2 separate regions of the Homo sapiens genome follow, and region 1 is linked to region 2. The links are contacts of gene promoters, found by promoter capture Hi-C in human tissues and cell types (Jung and others, 2019). All regions are on one chromosome and are shown on one strand. The core of a region is centred on a gene start or on the middle of the fragment in contact, and the rest is flanking DNA. Distances in the headings are between cores, read along the strand shown. Region 1 holds the start of NUP210L (nucleoporin 210 like). Region 2 holds the start of S100A13 (S100 calcium binding protein A13).

The links. The method cuts DNA at HindIII sites, captures the fragments that hold promoters and counts their contacts. A contact is called where the count stands out against the background at its distance.
Region 1: the fragment with the promoter of NUP210L here is called in contact with the fragment with the promoter of S100A13 in region 2 in 2 of the 25 tissues and cell types used here (H1 embryonic stem cells and ovary).

Annotation. Positions count from the first base shown.
Region 1 is chr1:154,153,128-154,156,774 of GRCh38, reverse strand. It overlaps NUP210L (nucleoporin 210 like), which reads left to right and starts at 1,702. Exons shown (of 40, transcript NM_207308.3): 1 at 1,702-1,933. The coding sequence starts at 1,731. It also overlaps a transcript of TPM3 not described here. RefSeq lists a silencer at 584-761 and enhancers at 1,368-1,868, 1,869-2,369. The HindIII fragment of the contact is 16,458 bases long and covers 1-3,647 here.
Region 2 is chr1:153,625,871-153,629,517 of GRCh38, reverse strand. It overlaps S100A13 (S100 calcium binding protein A13), which reads left to right and starts at 2,013. Exons shown (of 3, transcript NM_001024211.2): 1 at 2,013-2,035; 2 at 2,985-3,198. The coding sequence starts at 3,046. S100A1 (S100 calcium binding protein A1) reads right to left here and starts at 1,084. Exons shown (of 3, transcript NM_006271.2): 1 at 1,022-1,084. RefSeq lists enhancers at 116-939, 1,766-2,591. The HindIII fragment of the contact is 14,694 bases long and covers 1-3,647 here.

The DNA of each region.
Region 1 (3,647 bases), core at 453-2,952, 530 kb before region 2:
TTGAAGCTGCTGTCTCTAGAAGTGCCATCTCAATTGTGCTTTGTATCAGTCAGTGCTGGAGAAATCTTGAATAGCTTATGTACAAAACTTTTTAAATTTTATATTATTTTGAAACTTTGCTTTGGGTTTGTGGCACCCTGGCCACCCCATCTGGCTGTGACAGCCTCTGCAGTCCGTGGGCTGGCAGTTTGTTGATCTTTTAAGTTTCCTTCCCTACCCAGTCCCCATTTTCTGGTAAGGTTTCTAGGAGGTCTGTTAGGTGTACATCCTGCAGCTTATTGGCTTAAAATGTACTCTCCTTTTATGTGGTCTCTTTGGGGCCGATTGGGAGAAAGAGAAATCAATAGTGCAACTGTTTTGATACTGAATATTGACAAGTGTCTTTTTGAAATAAAGAACCAGTCCCTCCAACCCTCAGACCTATTTGACTTTTATTTATTAAAACTAAATGTGCTTTCTCCACAGAAGCTATGAGGTTTGGGTTAAAAATAGCATCTTTGTGGGTGGTAGCAACAGGATTTATTCTTTATTATTATTATTTTTGAGATGAAGTTTCATTCTTGTTGCCTGGGCTGGAGCGTAATGGCTCGATCTCGGCTCACTGCAACCTCCGCCTCCTGGTTCAAGAGATTCTCCTGCCTCAGCCTCCCGAGTAGCTGGGATTACAGGCACCTGCCACCATGCCCGGGTAATTTTTTATATTTTAAGTAGAGACAGGGCTTCACCATGTTGGCCAGGCTGGTCTCGAACTCCTGACCTTCAGGTGATCCACCTGCCTCAGCTTCCCAAAATGCTGGGATTACGGGCGTGAGCCACCGCACCCAGCTGGAGCAACAGGATTTAATATAGAGCAAATGTTTAGTTTTATCATCTGTAAAATGGAGATAAGTATTGTCAGAGTAAACATGAAGATTAGAAAGAACACTTAATGTGCTGGGCCTTTTATAGGTTAACACTGACATCTCAGGCTGAACTATATACATTTTCCTTCACAACCATATCAATCCTTATAAACTATGGATTTATGCTCCTTAAAACAATATATAATGCTGATCACTACTATAAATGCGTGGTTTTAACCAACTGTACTGAAACAGCTTTGAGTTTATATTCTGTTTGGATATTTGGAGAAAACAACAAGTGCTCTCAAGAGTATTTGCTTAGAGGCCGGCTGTGTGAGTGGATAACTTTGAAAGCTGCTTTTGAGACGCCAGTGTCTGGCATTTCCTGCATTCTGGCCTGGAGGCCGGACGTGAATCTGACTTCTAGTAAAAATACACGGTTCCCTTGACAAAGTCGAGCTGTTTATCCCAGAGACTGCACAATTTTCCGTTGATAGGCATGGACCAATGCTAACTGGAAATCATTGCAAAAAGTTTTTTTGTCGGGCGGAGGGTGTGGTGTTAAGATAAACAGTGTGCAACAGAAGAAATTAAAACTGGAAGAAATTAAAGGGTTTTTTTTAGACTTTTCTGCTTGTTCCTTACTGTTAAAAAGGTCTGCCATCCAGTATTTAGGAAAGCCCTTTAAGAGAGTTTGAGGTGTTTTAGCTGGGTTTGTGCCAAAAGTTTCCATTATATTGGCTTGCTGAAGGACTGCATTTAAAAATGCCCACACATCCGAGCAAGAAGCAGGTCCCATCCCCCTCTGCTGACGTCACGCCTGTGGATTGGCTGATGGAGCTGTGAGCCGGCTGTAGTTGAGCGGGAACCCGAGACCTGGCAGTCGCCATGACTGGCTGTCCGGCGTCATCAAGACGCCGAGGCTTCGGGCTCTTTTTCTTCTTGCGTCTACACCGCCTCCTGTTGTTGTTTCTGGTTTTGCGTGGGACCCTGGCCAACAAACTTAACGTGCCACAGGTGTTGCTACCCTTCGGCCGAGAGCCAGGCCGGGTGCCTTTCCTGCTGGAGGCCCAGCGGGGCTGCTACACTTGGTGAGGGGTGGTGGGTGACAAGGATATGCACCCTCACTACCATCCAGTAAGGGTGAGGGGGGTTCCCTCTGTAAGATCCCACAGGAATACCGTGTGGGGCCGCGTGAAGGGGCCTAGCCGGTAGGGGAGGAGAGTGTGGTGTCAGTGAAGGTGGCGAGGAGCAGACCCTTGGGTGTGGCGTGTCCTACTCATGTGGTATATCCTCCAGCTGTGTGACAATCTTCCAGACGTGTGAGGAATTCTCGGGATGTGGGACTGGCCTCTTCTCTGTGTGTGTTGGGAAGGGGTGGTCACTATGAGCAGCCGTCAGGGTAAAGGGAAGCCCTGTGTTGGAGGCCACAGGTACTGATGACTTCCAATGTAAACAACTAGAGTAAGAGGAAGTTCCCCATATCTGAGGAAATTTCTGTAGGAACAGGAAAACTTGGGGTGCGAGGGTCCCCACTAACTATAGATGAGCTATTCAATGTGAGAAGGACTTAAAACACAACAGCCAAGTATTGGGGGTTAACTAAGCACTTTACATGTGTTAACTCATTCGCTTTTTGCAGTCTTATGAAGTAAGTACTATTACTCCCATTTCACAGACGAGGAAAGTGAGGCCCAGAGACTATGAAGTGTAAACTTCTGGGAATATGAGAAGATTTATCGTGGGTGGAGATGAGATCTGTCTGTATTATCAAAATTGCCCCATTTATAAAAGGGTACCCGCTTGAAGTGTGAGGACAGGGGGTACACACAACTCCGGGATAATGACTTCCTGACTGAAGATGAAGAGACATGATTTTCTGGTGTGAGAGGACCCAATGATGGGTTATGTGGTTGCCTAAGGTATGAGAGAACCTAACCGAAGTGAGCTTCAGGATGCCAGTGCATTCATCCTAGATGGAGTAGATACCCCTTTGCCATCTCCTAGGAGAAGCAATGAGGTTTGTTCCGAGTATAAATTCACCTCTCATTTTATGAGGAAGTATAAGGAAAGTGAGCTTGTAAGATGATCCAGTGTGACGTGTGTGTTTCCTGACCGTGAGGGTGATGCAAGGCATCTTTCCAGCATTGAAAGCCATTTCTTCTATCACTCCAAAAATATTAATGAGGCCAGGCATGGTGGCTCACGCCTGTAATCCCAGCACTTTGGGAGGCCAAGGCAGGAGGATTACTTGAGGCCAGGAGTTTGAGACCAGCCGGATCAACATAGTGAGACCCCGTCTCTATTTAAAATAAAAACATTCGGCCGGGCGCAGTGGCTCACGCCTGTAATCCCAGCACTTTGGGAGGCCGGGGCAGGCAGATCACTTGAAGTCAGGAGTTCAAGACCAGCCTGGCCAACATGATGAAAGCCCATCCCTACTAAAAATACAAAAATTAGTCGGGCATAGTGGCAGACACCTGTAATCTCAGCTACTCGAGAGGCTGAGGCAGGAGAATCGCTTGAACCCTGGAGGCGAATGTTGCAGTGAGCTGAGATCGCCCTGCTGCACTTCAGCTTGGGCAACAAAGTGACTCGGTCTCAAAAACATAATAATAAATAAGAATAAAAATATTTATGAATGTTTTTGGTATTTTGAGTTGGACTCACACCTCATAATTTAGGCACCTTTTCCATCCTAGATATCAGAAGCCTGGTTTCTAGGATTGAAGGAAACTTTCCTCAGAGTATGAGAAAGTCCCCTCTCATTACTAGAAACACATCAGTCGTATTTCTGCATACTGA
Region 2 (3,647 bases), core at 764-3,263:
CTTGGCCCTGGGACAGTCTGGCCTTCCACAACCCCAGAGGGGGCAGCTCAGGTGTCTCGGATCAGATGTCCCCATCCTTCCCCAGGCCTAGGGGGCTGGACAATGGCCCCTGATCGAATGACATCCCAGTTCTTCAATGGGGCCCTTGTGAGTGTCATCTGAACTCCGGACCTGAGAAGCAGTTGTCACAGAGACATGGGGGAGATGGAACCCAAGCTGTGGCTGATGAGGGGATAAGGGGTGCTTGAGGGAGGGGTGCTGGTAGCTTGATTACCTGCTCCATGCCAGAGGGGCAGCTGGAGGTCACCTGGAGCCCTAAAGCAGCCTGGGATTTTACGTGGTGGCAGTTCTGAGAGGACTTGGGGGCAGGGGAGATGGGGAAACAAAGAGGTAAGAATGGGGGGAAAGAGGAGTCAAGAGGTCTGGGCCAAAAATGGGAGGAGGAGAAAGGGGAGGTCCTGTGGAGGTCGAGTTGGGAAGGGGCACAGCACCCTACATCTCTGCTTCCCCATATCATGGGAGCTTTGCCCTGCCACCCCCAGACTCCCCCGGGACCTGAGCTCTTGGCAAGGCAGGGTGGGGGTGGCAGAGACTAAGGCTGGCAGGAGAGGTGGGGGCAGAAACAGCTGTTGTATCTGCTCTCTTCTTACCCCACAGGAGGCGAGGCAGGGGAGGGCTGGGACCCTTCCCAACACCTGGGAGACAGAGGGGGCCTTGGCAGGGACTTGAGGGCTCCCTGTGGGAGGGCCAGGCGGTCAGGAAGCTCATGGTGGGTTCCCCACTGGCTTCCTCCTTTGCTGAGCTGCCAGCTCTCTCTCCGACCTTCAGTTCATTTGTCTCTCATCACCACCTTCCAAACCCTGTCTCCCCCAAATCCCAAACTGCCCTCACCCTGACTGACTCCTCCCAGATCCTCAGTGCTCCACAGTGCTATGGTCCCCAGCCTCTTGGAGCCCTTCTGAAGACCCCTCTCCCTGAAGCTGGCAGGCCAGGGACTAGCCCAGTGGGGCAGGGTACTCACGGTTGGCCTGGGCCTGAGGTGGGAGCAGGTTCTGGACAGATGGCCAAGGTTGCAAATGTGGCTGCTGGAGCTGTGTGTGGAGACCTGTCTTCAACAGTCCCTCCCCCGCTGACCCCCCCACCGACTCCACCCCTTCACAGACGAACACCCTGTGGGGCAAGGGGCCAGGAGCAGACAGAGGCGCCCTCTGTCTCCTGGGCTGGAACAGGCGGCCCTTGTCTCTTTCCCAGCCTTGCTTGCCCCGTTCCTTTCTCTCCAGGCAGCAGTGGATGGTGCAGGGGAAAGAGGTGGGAAGGAGGTCCTGGGAGGGACACTGGATGTCTTACCCCAAGCTGGGCCTTGCAGTACCTGTGGCTGGCTGTGCTGGTTGAGCCCGGTAAGGGGGGAATTCTGCTGAGGGGGTCTTAGTCTGTGGCTCCTCCATGGGGCCTCACTGAGAGGACCCTCAGTGAGAAACTTAGTCTTGGGAGTCTGAGAACCCACAGAGGGATTTCAATCCAGGACTCTTCTCTGGGGGTCTCAACCTGGATCCCCCTCTGTGTGTGGGGCCTCAGCCTGGGGTTCTCTGAGGGATCTTGGTCTGTAGCATCCTTTGTGGGATCTCATTCCAAGGGGCCTCTGTGTGTGTCTCAGATTGGGCCTCTCAGTGTTGAGCTCCCTTGATTGGTTGCCTCCCTCTTCCCCCCTCAGCATACACACTCCTGATTAGACATGGGTATGGTGGCAGCAGCCCCCAGTATTGAGAGGACTAGGACCCTGGGACCCCTGCCGAACGAGATCTGTCCAGGCAGCTCCTCTCCCTGACCAAGTGGGGGCGCTCGTGTGGCTGGCAGGGAGCCCGGGTCCAGACCTGAGGGCTCAGGGCAAGCGGCCTGATTGGGCTGTCTCTGGTCTTCAGAATCGACCACGGAAATTTGACACCTCCGGGCTTGGAAGCAGCTCTCTCCTCCTTCCCCGCTGCTTATAAACCTCAGCCCTGAGGCTCCAGCTCACTCTACCCCATCTCCTTGCCGGGTGAGTCTCATGGCTGACCCTGGAGGGAGGCTGGAGATCATTTTTTCTTCCTGGGCTCCCAGGTCCCTCCCCCAGAGCCAGCTCAGACAGGAATTCAGGAAGGAGCTTTGGATGATCGAGCAACAGCGCGTGCAGGAGTGTGTGACGGGGTGGACAGAAAAGAGAATGCCTCTTCCAGCCCCACCCGCCGCACCCCAGGGGGTTGTGAGTGCCTGTACTAAACCCGTCCTGGAGCAGGGAGTCAGAGACGCCCCGTTCCAGGACCCTTGTCACCGGGAGACAGGAGCGGGGAGGATCTGTGGGGTCCTGGGTTCAGCACTCTGCCCTGCTGCCGCTGAGGAGAGGTAAGGGTGGAGCGGGGCAGAGAAAATGGGTCTGTTCAGACGGAGCCAGCTCTGACCACAGGGGACATTTGCCAGACCCTGTGCTTCTCTGCTGGGAGGAGCGGTTAGAGTGTGTGTGGGCGGATGCGAGTGGCCGGAGACCAGGGCCCAACATAAACAAGCTTTGGAGACAAACAACCTTATGACCTGTGAGTCTGGGTGAGACAAGAAGGGATTCTTGAGACAGACACGCCACAGAGGGGCCACCAGACTTGAAGGACTCCAAGAAGGACCTTCAACTGAAGACCTCCTCTCAAGTAGAGGGGTCTCCAGATCGAGGGATCACCACAGAGGGGTCCCTAAGCCACAGACATTTAAAAAGGATCCCGGATTGTGAGACCTACAGAAGAGGGGGTTTCTGGAGCTGAATCTCCTGCCCCCACCAAAACTGAGATGCCGTTGCCTGGTCTGCTGCCCCAAGCTCAACCCCTGTCCTCTCCCTCTTTCCCCATATGCCCCCTCCAGGCTGAGACTGATGTGATAACACCAAGGCAGGGACCTTCTGAACCATTCCTGCATCTTGGGGCTCCCTGACTCTCCCTCTCTGCTCCTTCTCTCTTCCACAGGTCAGCCCTGACAAAGGTCAGCTAGCCCCTTGAGGACATCAGCTTTGGCCTCAGGGTCCTAATGGCAGCAGAACCACTGACAGAGCTAGAGGAGTCCATTGAGACCGTGGTCACCACCTTCTTCACCTTTGCAAGGCAGGAGGGCCGGAAGGATAGCCTCAGCGTCAACGAGTTCAAAGAGCTGGTTACCCAGCAGTTGCCCCATCTGCTCAAGGTAGGCAGAAGTCTGGGACTGAGATTTTGTGAGATGATGATTATGGGACACTGTGTTTAGGACGTGATGGTGCCGAGTACGGTGAGGTGACCACAAGAAAGGGTGTGGGTGGCTGCATGTGTCAATGGTTGCAGGTTTTCTTTTGTTTTTTCGAGACAAAGTCTCACTCTGTTGCCCAGGCCGGAGTGCAGTGGTGTGATCTTGGCTCACTGCAACCTCCATCTCCGGGGTTCAAGTGATTCTCCTGCCTCAGCCTCCTGAGTAGCTGGGATTACAGGTGTGTGCCACCACGCCGAGCCTATTTCTGTATTTTTAGTAGAGACAGGGTTTCACCAGGTTGGCCAGGCTGGTCTCGAACTCCTGACCTCAGGTGATCCACCCGCCTCGGCCTCCCAAAGTGCTGTGGTTACAGGCGCAAGCCACTGCGCCTGACCCGGTTGTGAGTTTTC